Regions from separate parts of the Homo sapiens genome. Here all the other regions are linked to region 2. Evidence: promoter capture Hi-C in human tissues and cell types (Jung and others, 2019). All regions are on one chromosome and are shown on one strand. Each heading gives the region's core, a stretch centred on a gene start or on the middle of the fragment in contact. The rest is flanking DNA. Distances are from core to core; before and after follow the strand shown. Region 1 overlaps CLTA (clathrin light chain A). Region 2 holds the start of RECK (reversion inducing cysteine rich protein with kazal motifs). Region 3 has its middle 10 kb from the start of HRCT1.

Evidence for each region. Contacts are between HindIII fragments. The study calls those that stand out against the background at their distance.
Region 1: a contact is called between a fragment that was not itself captured here and the fragment with the promoter of RECK in region 2, in 2 of the 25 tissues and cell types used here (dorsolateral prefrontal cortex and mesendoderm cells).
Region 3: a contact is called between a fragment that was not itself captured here and the fragment with the promoter of RECK in region 2, in 4 of the 25 tissues and cell types used here (IMR-90 fibroblasts, aorta, lymphoblastoid cells and 1 more).

Annotation. Positions count from the first base shown.
Region 1 is chr9:36,194,159-36,198,434 of GRCh38, reverse strand. It overlaps CLTA (clathrin light chain A), which reads right to left. Exons shown (of 5, transcript NM_001833.4): 2 at 847-884. Among named protein-coding and RNA genes, the nearest start is that of CLTA, 5.4 kb to the right of the region's middle. The HindIII fragment of the contact is 6,945 bases long and covers 1-4,276 here.
Region 2 is chr9:36,034,434-36,038,208 of GRCh38, reverse strand. It overlaps RECK (reversion inducing cysteine rich protein with kazal motifs), which reads right to left and starts at 1,296. Exons shown (of 21, transcript NM_021111.3): 1 at 1,111-1,296. The coding sequence starts at 1,210. RefSeq lists silencers at 1,017-1,166, 1,177-1,376. The HindIII fragment of the contact is 17,807 bases long and covers 1-3,775 here.
Region 3 is chr9:35,894,249-35,898,238 of GRCh38, reverse strand. No RefSeq gene overlaps it. Among named protein-coding and RNA genes, the nearest start is that of HRCT1, 10 kb to the left of the region's middle. RefSeq lists an enhancer at 2,350-2,849. The HindIII fragment of the contact is 7,635 bases long and covers 1-3,990 here.

The sequences.
Region 1 (4,276 bases), core at 709-3,208, 160 kb before region 2:
AAAGTGCTGGAATTACAGGCGTGAGCCACCGTGCCCGGCCTGTGTTGTTGCTTTTAAGGTAATCCTTTAACATTTTACAAAAGCCGCCATTGTTGTTAGAAACGGGTTCTGCAGTGAGCCAAGGTTGCGGTGGCTCTGGCGGGGTGCGGTGGCTCACGCCTGTAATCCCAGCACTTTGGGAGGCCAAGGCGGGATGGTCACTTGAGCCCAGGAGTTCAAGACCTGCCTGGCCAACATGGCGAAACCCCATCTCTACTAAAAATACAAAAAATTAGCCGGGCGTGGTGGCATGCGCCTGTAATTCCAGCTACTCAGGAGGCTGAAGTGGATGAATCGCTTGAACCCAGAAGGTGGAGGTTGCAATGAGACAAGATCGTGCCACTGCACTCTAGCCTGGGCGACAGTGAGACTGTCTCAAAAAAAAAAAAAAAAAAAAAGACTCAAATAAATGTTAATCTTTACAAAATTATTCCATATGCCACTCACTGAACTAAGGAATATTAATATTACCAGGTTAACCTAATCAGACTATAAACAAAGATGGAAGGAGAATTATTTAAAGTATTAGTATTAACTTACTGCACTCAACACAGTATCATTTGAATGGTGATTTCTTTAGAATAAAGGTGATAACACTAGGGGCAGGTAAATAACATTTTTAAACAGTTCTCTTTTTATCAATGCTACCTCTCTTTAAATCTTTCCACTTTGGTAGATAACACACCAGCCAGTAATACATTCAGGAAAGTCAAAGGACTGGGGTTTCTTTCTAGGTCAGTCAATTAAAATCACAGGAAAGGAAGATTCTCAATCACTATCAATGAACAGAATCAGAGTACTCTGTACCTGGTAGTATTCACCATTCATTACTCCATCAACAGCATCTGCAAGACATAAGATTTTGGTCTATCAATAAGGACTGGTCAAACACTGGGCCAAAGGGTTGTACAGTAGAATACAGCATCATATGCTGTATGAACCTTGAGCTACTAAATGCTATCCCTGTGGTAGGTGCTATATACAACAAATAAAACCAAGATGTGCTTATATACAAATTTCACCAAAATGTGTACACATCTGTCCTTAAGCTCCCAAGTCCAAAAGCTTTTGATTTTATTTTCTGTTTTCTATTTTACAGTGGTAACAAATGGAAGACTAGCAGAAAGAGAACAGTGTTTCTCTATGAAAATTCTGCATGAGGGAAAAAAAAAAGTGTGGCCTGGAATCACCCATAGTGAGCAGAGACCTGCAGCTTCATCTTTGAGACAGTCTTGCTCTGTCGCCCAGGCTGGAGCAAAGTGGCCCAATCATGGCTTACTGTAGCCTCGACCTTTTGGGCTCAAGCGAACCTCCCACCTCAGTCCCCACAGGAGCTGGGATTGCAGGCATGCGCCACCACGCCTGGATAATTTTTCTATTTTTTTGTAGGAAGGGGGTTTCGCCATGCTGCCCAGGCTGCTATCGATTTCCTGGACTCAAGCGATCCACCCGCCTCGGTCTCCCAAAGTATTGGATTACAGGCATGAGCCACCATGCCTGGCCTCTCATATTTTTCTTAATTTTCCTAGTTGACTTTTACTCCTATATGTCAGTACAAAAATGAGTTTCTTATAGTTTGTCAGTGGCCTTTTACCACTTTAAGGCATGTGCCACCTACCTATGTAGTTTTTTAAGCACTCTATAAAGTTTTGGAAATATGAAGTTTATCAAACTAGTGAAAGCATGGGGGAAGCATATTCAATTTCGCCTCTGTAATAAATTTCTTGGTGTAGAATTGCTGGGTTACAGCTGGGCGCGGTGGCTCACACCTATAATCCCAGCACTTTGAGAGGCCAAGGTGGGAGGATCACTCGAGGTCAGGAGTTCAAGACCTGCCTGGCCAACATGGTGAAACCCACCTCCATATACTAAAAATACAAAAATTAGCCAGGGTGGTGGCATGAGCCTGTAATCCCAGCTACTCAGGAGGCTGAAAGAGGAGAATTGCTTGAACTCGGGAGGCAGAGGTTGCAGTGAGCCAAGATCGCGCCACTGCACTCCAGCCTGGGTGACGGAGCGAGACTCCATCTCAAAAAATAAAAAAAAAAAAAAAGAAAAAAGAAAGAAAAAAAAGGAATTGCTGGATCACAGGATATGTATTTTATTTTTTTTTGAGAGAGAGTCTTGCTCTGTTGCCCAGGCTAGAGTACAGTGGTGCAATCTTGGCTCACTGCAACCTCCACCTCCTGGGTTGTTCAAGTGATTCTCTTGCCTCAGCCTCCTGAGTAGCTGGGACTACAGGCGTGAGCTATCATGCCCACCTAATTTTTTTTGTAGTTTTAGTAGAGACGGGGGTTTCACCACGTTGGCCAGGATGGTCTCGAACTCCTGACCTCAGACGATCCACCCACCTCAGCCTCCCAAAGTGCTGGGATTACAGGCATGAGCCACTGCGCCCAGCCAGGATATGTATTTTTTTATTTTTTTTGAGACGGAGTCTCACGCTGTTGGCCAGGCTAGAGTACACTGGCGCGATCTCGGCTTGCTGCAACCTCCGCCTCCCAGGTTCAAGTGATTCTCCTGCCTCAGCCTCCCGAATAGCTGGGATTACAGGCACGTGCCACCATGCCCGGCTAATTTTTGTATTTTTTAGTAGAGACGAGGTTTCACTATGTTGGTCAGGCTGGTCTCAAACTCCTGACCTCAGGTGATCCGCCCACTTCAGCCTCCGAAAGTGCTGGGATTTCAGGCGTGAGCCACCGCACCTGGCCCAGGATATGTATTTCAAAGACTTCTAAAATTCTACCCACTTGTTCCTATTAGTCTACCAGTTTATATTACTACTAGCAGCACAAGTGCCCCATTTCTTAGACCTTCCCTGATACTAGGGACTGTGCTTGATCATGTTTTAAAATTTTTGCTAATTTGATAATGGAAAAAAAAAACAAACTCATGGTGGCTTTGTTGTGCCAATCTTATTTCCAGTGAGGTAATCACATACCCGACACCTGATTTTCTTCTTTACTGAATTTTCTGAGTTTGCCTATTTTCCTGCTATTTTTTGATCTCTAAGTATTTGCTCTCTAATAGTCAAATATTTTCCCTAGTTTCTCTTTTGATTTGGTTTATGGTATTTAACACTTGGAACAACTTAATTTGTGTATGTAGACATGATCGACTTTTTCTTCATGATTTCTGTATCTGCTTTTATGCTGAAGGCCTTTCCTATTATGAGATAGACAAATACTCACTTTTCTTCTTTTACTTTTTAAATGTCTCTCTTTAATCCACCTGGAATTTATTTTTGTGTAAGACAGAAGAGTGAGATAGTTTTAAATCCTAGATCCTACAGTGGCTAGTCTGGCCAGGCCTACATTATGGTTAATATAGTACAATTGACATACCAACTATCCACTAATATAGTCCAGCCCTGGGCTGGAATATGAGAGACTTTGATCACTACTCCATATACAAAACAAGAAGCAATCCTCATCCCACATCTCCTTAAAAATCACATGCTGTCTGAAGGCTCCTCCAGACCCACTGGCATCTGCTTTCCTCTTTATTAGTTACTGTATTACTGCACTAACATTCTTACAAGAATCAACTGGCTCAAGCCAAGGGATCGTCTGTTGCTGTGGAAACATGCAGAAAGGACATGTAGGGCCTTGACTTACTACAACAACTAAACTAAGCAACACGATGCTTCAGAAGGAAACTTTCTAGGGCCTTTCAGGAACTCCAGACAGAAAAAGGGCCAGTTTTCAAAAGTGAAAGACTGTCCCAAACCCACTTTCAACTTTCCACATTCCAGAAACATTTGAAGTCAAGCAGACCTACGTTTGAAGCTGCACTTGAGCCATTTATTACCTTGCTACCTTAGTGACACTGCTCAACTTCCACACCGATCCATTCTCATCTGAAATATGACACTACCACTTAACCTGTGGAGCTACTGCTGGGATCTGAAAGTGTACCTGGTATACAGCAAATGTGCAGTACAATTAACTATCATGCATGAGATTTCCCTAAACTTCCCTCCACCACTGCTACCAATAAAATTACTTCTCCAGAAAGCTTCCCTTTAATTCACCCATGTCTCTTTCTTCTCCTACAAGAAATAACTTGTCACCGGGTGCGGTGGTTCACACCTGTAATTCCAGCACTTTGGGAGGCCAAGGCGGGTGGCTCACCTGAGGTCAGGAGTTTCAGACCAGTCTGGCCAACATGGTGAAACCCCGTCTCTACTAAAAATACAAAAAGTTAGCTGGGCACGGTGGTGGGCGCCTGTAATCCC
Region 2 (3,775 bases), core at 47-2,546:
CGCGGGTAGCTGGAACAACAGGCATACACCACCATGCCCGGCTAATTTTTGTATTTTTAGTAGAAACGGGGTTTCACTATGTTAAGCAGGATGGCCTCGAACTCCTGGGCTCAAGGGATCCGCCCGCCTCCACCTCCCAAAGTGCTGGGATTACAGGGGAGAGCCTACCGCACCCGGCTGACTTTGCTTTTTTTTTTTTTTTTTTTAAGGTGTCTCTGCCTGTCTCCCTGTAAGCAATGCACTTCACCACTTTTGCATGCACACGTCCTAGCCATCTTTCAATGTCTAGTACAGCTAGGGGGAATCACTCCACTTTCCACTCATCCTAGGTCGATGTCCTCTCTCCCTCTGTGCACTCATACATGGCCCTTCATTTCCTCTGGACATTTCTGCCTTGAATTCGAGTTACTTCAATCTCCTGCTGTACCCCATCTCCTACCGAGAGAGCTTTTGGACGGAAGGAGTCGGCGTGCACTCAAAAGGCCAGCAAGCGGGAAGCAATCAATAAGCACTTAACAGTTTCCTATCCATCCTTGGTTTAGTTCTTGTAGAGCAAGAATTTCTCTCCTCAAGCCTGCCAGCCCCCGGGGGACAGGGTTTACTGATTTTTAATGTCTCCTGCCCGAGTCCAGGACCCACCACGCGGGCTGTGGGGACCGTCAGTGCTCACCGCCACCAAGGTCGTTATGAACCAAGTGCGGGTCAAGTAACAAGTAACAATAACTAACTAGGGCCGCGGTAGGGCGGCTGCGTATCCGAAATCCCATCTAAACCTCGCGACGATCCTGGGCGGGGGCATCGCACCCTTTTCTGACAAGCAGCAGAGGCAAGCGAAGGGGTCAGTGCCGAAGAGGGGGCCCGTGTCGGTGGGTGACAGACCAAGGCCTCAAACCCGAGTCACCGCCCAGAAGATCTTGGGGCGGAGAGAGTTCCTCACTCGCCCCGCCTCGGCACCAGCCTCTGGAGCGCTGAGACCTGGGGTCCCGGGGTCGCCGGACGTGGGCAGGGTCTGGGGGTCGCGCGCACCCCCGCCCCCTGCCCCGCGCCATCTTGGAGCGCTGTGGCGGCCGCTCCCGACAGCTTCGAACCGTTGCTCTGGAGGTTACTCACCCGCACTGCCCGGAGCCAGGCCCCCTGCCACCTCCGCGACCCCCGCCACGGCCAGCAGAAGGAGCAGCGCACCTCGCAGAGAGGCCCGGACGGTCGCCATGTCCGGGCCGGGCGGCTCCAGAGCCGCGGGATGCTCGGACCCAGCTTGGCCGCAGCCGCTGCCGCCGCTACCGCCGCCGCTCGCGCGAGGCCCCGCCCCCAGCGCCCGGCCCTTTGGTGACTGGCTGCGGCCCGCTCAAGCCCCGCCCCCTGCCTCACAGTGTTTCCAAAACCTCCCGGGGGCGGGAACGTGCCCCGTACCAGGGCTCTTTGTTATGGCCCAACTGTGTGTCGGCTTCTGCCAGGAGTCCACCAGCCCACGTTCTCCCAGAGTGAAGTCAGAGGATGTCAGAGCTGGGAGAGTCATTAGAAAACCTCTGCCACCTCCTGAGGTTTCGGGCCACTGAGGTGAGAGAGGAGACTGACCTTACTCAAGATCACACTGCAAGTTCACCTGAGAACAAGGGCTTAGTCCAAGGCCGAACCAAAGGGGCTTCTCTCCTTCATGTACCCTCAGTAATACTCGCAATATTCTTTCTGCCGAGACGCTGCCTCGCACCCAAAGAAAGCATGTCACCCGGGATCCTTCGGCCTCCCGCAGACACGGCCCCCTGACAAGGGTTCATCACTAGAGCTCTTTGGCACTATAGCCTCAATGTGTCTTTGTTGTACTTTAAAAATTATTTATTTATTTATTTAGGCAAGAGTCGCTCTGTCGCCCAAGCTGGGGTGCAGTGGCGCGATCTCGGCTCACTGCAACCTCCGCCTCCCGGGCTCAAGCGATCCTCCCACCTCAGCCTCCTGAATAGCTGGGACCACGGGCGCAGGTGACCACGCCTGGCTAATTTTTATATTTTTTTTGCAGAGAAGGGGTTTCACCATATTTCTCAAGCTGGTCTCGAACTCCTCGCCTCAAGCAATCCCCCAGCCTCCTCCTCCCAAAGTACGGGGATTGCAGGCGTGAGCCACTGTGCCTGGCCTTGATGTTACTATTAAGCACCTATTCCTGATAGGAAAAGAGGATAGGAGAACGCTTGTATACCTAGATGTGGAAAGCCTTGAATATCCGGCTGAGAAGTATAGACTTTGTCCAAGAGACAAGTTGGAAGTGGGTCCCACCCCACCCATCAGCCCAGCAGCTACGTGGAGAATGTTTAAGCCACTGGCTAGCAAAGCTAATTCATTGTCTCTTTTTTTCTCTGTGTGTTCCTGAATTAAACCCTTTTTCCTCCTTTTTTGAAAAAGCATGACCACCGTTTTAAATTCTCATGAAGACACCTGGGGCTAAATTACTTAAAACATTTTTAAAATTCCTTAATATTATTAAATATCCAGTCATTATTTACATTTTTCTTATTGTCTCATGATTTCTTTTTACAATTTTTCAAGTTCTAAACAAAATCCATATATTAAAGTTGGTTTTTATGTTTTTGGGCTCTTACATTTATCCTCTCTTTCGAGTTTACAAAAGGAAAACATGAATAAGTTAAAATATCTAAAACATCTCCTCTGATGACTCTGTTGCTTCTGTGTACAAGGTAAACTGAGGCACAATAAAATTTTAAAGTTTACTTCAGCACGCGGTGATTCATGAATTGAGAAGCTGCAAACCAGAAGTGGTTCTGGGGCTCAGCTCTGTCGAAGAAGCAGATTTTTACAGAGTGAATGGGAAAGTAATAAAAAGAAAATATTTGATTGGTTACAGTTATAAAGTTGCCTTATTTGGTCTATCCCACTAAAAAGCCTCTAGTTATACAAGTTTGTGGACTACTTCTGATTGGTTGAGCTTGTTCTGTTTTTCTTTAATATATGCATTTACAAGAAATAGCTCAGATTAACTCAAGTAAGTTTAAGGTCACTTATGAGGACTAAATTGACTATCTGCTCAGGAATTCTGCAGACCTGGTCTTCATTTTAATTTATTTTAACAATTCCCCTCTGAGAGTAATAGTACCACTATTGACACAGTCACTGGGCCAAAGAGTCATGATGCTATCATTATTAACAGTTGCGGCTGGGCGCAGTTGCTCATGCCTGTAATTCCAGCACTTTGGGAGGCCAAGGTGGGAGGATAACTTCAGCCCAGGAGTTTGAGGCCAGCCCAGGCAACGTTGTCAGACCCCCATCTCAATTAAAAGAAAAAAAAAAATAAGTAGTTACATTGGGATGTAGAATCACATGTAGGCTTTGGCAGTTGGGGTAAGTTCTTCAAGTTGTCTAATCCTGATGGCAATCATTTGATGTGTGGCTGCTGGAAAGCATTAAAACTCTTGACAGGGGCTGGGCGCGGTGGCTCATGCCTGTAATCCCAGCACTTTGGAAGGCCAAGGTGGGTGGATCATGAGGTCAGGAGTTCAAGACTAGCCTGGCCAACATGGTGAAACCCTGTATCTACTAAAAATACAAAAATTAGCCAGGTGTGGTGGCGCGTGCCTATAGTCCCAGCTACTCAGGAGGTTGAGGCAGGAGGTTGAGGCAAAGTAGACCTTATTTTTTAGAGCCGTTTTAAGTTGACAGCAAAACTGAGTGGAAAGTACAGAAGGTAGACAGTCCCTGCCCCCACATATGTAAACCTCCCCCCACTGTCAGCATCCTGCACCAGAATGGTACATTTGTTACAATTGAT
Region 3 (3,990 bases), core at 1,327-3,826, 140 kb after region 2:
TTGATGAATCTGGGCAAAGTAATCTTTTGTGAAAGGAAGGCTTGATCAACATGGCAAAATTTATTAACAACTTATTTTAAGAAATTGCCACAGCCACCTCAACCTTCAGCAACCACCACCTTGGTCAGTCAGCAGCCATCCACGTCAAGGCAAAGTCCTCTACCAGCGAAAATATTACAAATCACTGAAAGCTCAGGTGATCATTAGCATTTTTTAGCAATAAGGTATTTGTTTTTTTGAGATGGAGTCTCCCTTTGTTGCCCAGGCTGGAGTGCAATGGCGTGGTCTCGGCTCACTGCAACCTCTGCCTCCCAGGTTCAAACGATTCTCCTGCCTCAGCCTGTGGAGTAGCTGGGACTACAGGTGCGTGCCACCACATCCGGCTAATTTTTTGTTGTTGTTGTATTTTTAGTAGAGATGGGGTTTCACTATGTTGGCCAGGCTGGTCTCAAACTCCTTACCTCATGATCTGCCCACCTCAGCCTCTCAAAGTGCTGGGATTACAGGCATGAGCCACTGCACCCAGCCAATAATGTATTTTTAAATTAAGATATGTACTTTTTAGACATAATGCTAATGCACACATAATAGACTATAGGATAGTGTAAGCATAATTTTTTATGCACTGAGAAACCAAAAAATTGGTATGACTCACTTTATTGCAGTGATTTGGAACTGAACCTGCAGTACCTCCAAGGTACTCCTGTGTTGCAAATGAGTAAAACAAAAAAAGTGTACTATTAGGAGGATACTCTTTTAACATTATTAAAAGGAAAAATATCTCAAACCAGTAGTCAACATCATGATTAATGGTGAAAAAAAATAGGCCTGTAATCCCAGCACTTTGAGATTCCTGTTGAAACCAGGAACAAGCTAGAATGCTTACTTCCACCATTTTTAGTTAGCTTAATACAATAACAATGTATAATAAAAGGTAGAAATATTAGAGATGATGTGACTACATATCTGGAAAACTTGAAAGAATATACTGGAGAACTATTAACACTAATAAGAGTTAATTTAAAAATTCAAATTTTTAAATAAAACTTAATTTAAATTTTTGACCAGGAGCAGTGGCTCATGCCCATAATCCCAGCACTTTGGGAGGCTAAGGCAGGCAGATCATTTGACTCCAGGAGTTCAAGACCACCCTGGCCAACATGGTGAAATCCCATCTCTAAATAATAATAATAATAATAATAATAATAATAATAAATTTAGATTCTAAAATTTAAAAATAAAAATACAAAATCGGTGATTTTCCTACATAACAGTAATTACTAATTCAAAGACAGAATGAAGGCATTATTGAAACTTAAAACAAAAATTATAAAACTTCTAAGAACAAACAAGAATAAACTTAACAAGAGATGTGGAAGACCAATGAACAAAAGAAAAAGCAAGTCTTCACTGACAGCTGTGAAAGAAGACCTGACTAACCGAAGCACCACACCATGTGTCTGAAAGGGAGGAGCCCGCATTATAGTCCAGGCTGCACTTCAGGGGATATGGATCCTGTGAGACTTGCAAACAACCTGCCACAAGCATCTGTTAAATAAATTCTTATATGCTATAGAGGTAATATTTTTGAAAAGTAGTAATATACTTTTTTTGAGATAGGATCTTGCTCTGTTGCCCAGGCTAGAGTGCAGTGGCATGATCAGAGCTCACTGCAGCCTCTACCTCCTCCCAAACAATCCTCCCGCCTCAGCCTCCCAAGTAGCTGGGACTCCAGGTGTGTGCCACCACGTCTGGCTAACTTTTTTATTCTTTGTAGAGACGTGGTCTCGCTATGTTGCCTAGACTGATAACCTGCTCTTTAAAGTTACTTTTCCAAATATGTAAGTTTCTTCCTAGTTGTTCCAGAGCATTTGTCTGGAGAGAGAGTTGAATTATTACAAAAAGAATGCAAGGAGAAGGACTTTAATATGCATGCAGTCTTTGACCTTCAAAATTGGACTTTGCCCTGTAAGTCAAGCCAGTTTCCTAAGAGGATTTTCCAAATTCTTTTTTCTCTCCCTTTCAACACACTGAATCAAGGACCAAACGAGGACCCAGCCCATGCAGATCTCCTATAACGTAGAAAGCTCCTCCATTCCACATGCGACAGCCATGTAGCCGAAGTTTGAAGCTCTAAGGTAGATGGAGGCCATGATATCCAGGCCTGGGAGAAGCCTGGTTCCTTCTGGCCCCAAAGGATGATGGGAAGGAGAGAGAAGAAAGGCATGAAGTGCAAAATGTGTGCAGCAGCTGCTAGGGAGCTTCAAAAACAAATGGGGAAGGCTACAGGAAGACAGGGCTAGAGGTGAATACACTGAGGCACTGATGTTATTTGGATGGGGAGTGTGGTCTGCAAAATCTAGGAATTCATGAAAATGTGACCTCATTTGTACATGCAGGGTGGTTAGTGCTGGCAATGTTTGTGTTACACCTATAAACACGCACAGACAGAAGTCTGAAGAGCTACAAGATGCAATCTTTATAGGGCTTCCTCTGAGCAGTGAGTTTGCAGGTGACTGCTTTTTATTTGGCATTTCTACATTTCTAAAACTTGCAACAATAAACATTTTACTTGTATAATAATGAAAGCAACAAAAGTTACAGCACCTTTAGAAAAATATTCAGAAGCATGCCCACCAAGTAGAACAGGTCTGCAAAGTGATCCACCTATTCACCAACGAAGAGAGCAGCTAGACCCCAGAATCATAAGCTTCATTGGTGTCATTTTAAAGATGCCAGCCAGGCGCGGTGGCTCATGCCTGCAATCCTAGCACTTTCGCAGGCCAAGGGCGGCGGATTGCCTGAGCTCAGGAGTTCGCAACCAGCCTGGGCGACACAATGAAACCCCATCTCTACTAAAATACAAAAAAATTAGCCAGGTGTGGCGGCGTGCGCCTGTAGTCTCAGCTACTCAGGAGGCCAAGGCAGGAGAATCGCTTGAACCCGGGAGGCAGAGGTTGCAGTGAGCCGAGATCGCGCCACTGTGCTCCAGCCTGGGTGACAGAGCGAGACTCTGTCTCAAAAAAAAAAAAAAAAGATGCCAACAGGTGGAAGAGGTCTCCTAGATTCACTGTCCTTGGGGATGTGTGGGAGCTGATTAATCCAAGGGGACTGCTTCTCCTGCCTTCCCTGGGCAGCATGTCCATGGGCTTTGAGACATGTATATGCAGTAAACATAGTGAACTTTCTTGAGCCTAAGTTTGCCCTCATGCACAACGAGGGAAGAACTGGAGACAGATTGAATCTGTGCAGTCTAAGATTTATTGCTCTCTGGATTTTCAAGTCTCTGTAATTTTCTGAAATCATTATCTAAAGATAATTGTGACACTTAGAATTATATTCATTGATATAACTAACATCTGTTGAACTAGACTCTGTGCCTGGTGCTGAGGCTGGGTAGAAAAAAGACAATCCATGCCTTCCAAGAGCTTTTTACCTAGGACAGGAGACAGAAATATAAATTATTACAACACACTGGGTAAATTCTGGGACCTAAATATTCACAAGGAAAGCACAAAAGGAGTCATTCATAAGCAATAATCTCCTTTCCTTTTCCTCCCCAACTATTTTAATAATTGCTAGAATAATTACACTTTACAAATGTATCTTTAGATCTCACAACAAACCTATTGTCCTCACATTACATAGGAGGCTTAGAGAGTTAAAGCTCTCACTGTTGCCCGGCATGGTGGCTCACCCCTGTAATCCCAGCACTTTGGGAGGCCAAGGTGGGTGGATCACCTAAGATCAGGAATTCGAGACCAGCCTGACCAACATGGTGAAACCCCATATCTACTAAAAATACAAAAAAATAGCTGGGTGTGTAATCCCAACTACTCAGGAGGCTGAGGCAGGAGAATCGCTTGAACCTGGGAGCAGAGGTTGCAGTGAGCCGAGATCGTGACACTGCACTCCAGCCTGGAGGATACAGTGAGACTCTGTCCCCCAAAATAACAAATAAATAAATAAAGCACCCATTCTGGGTCACGC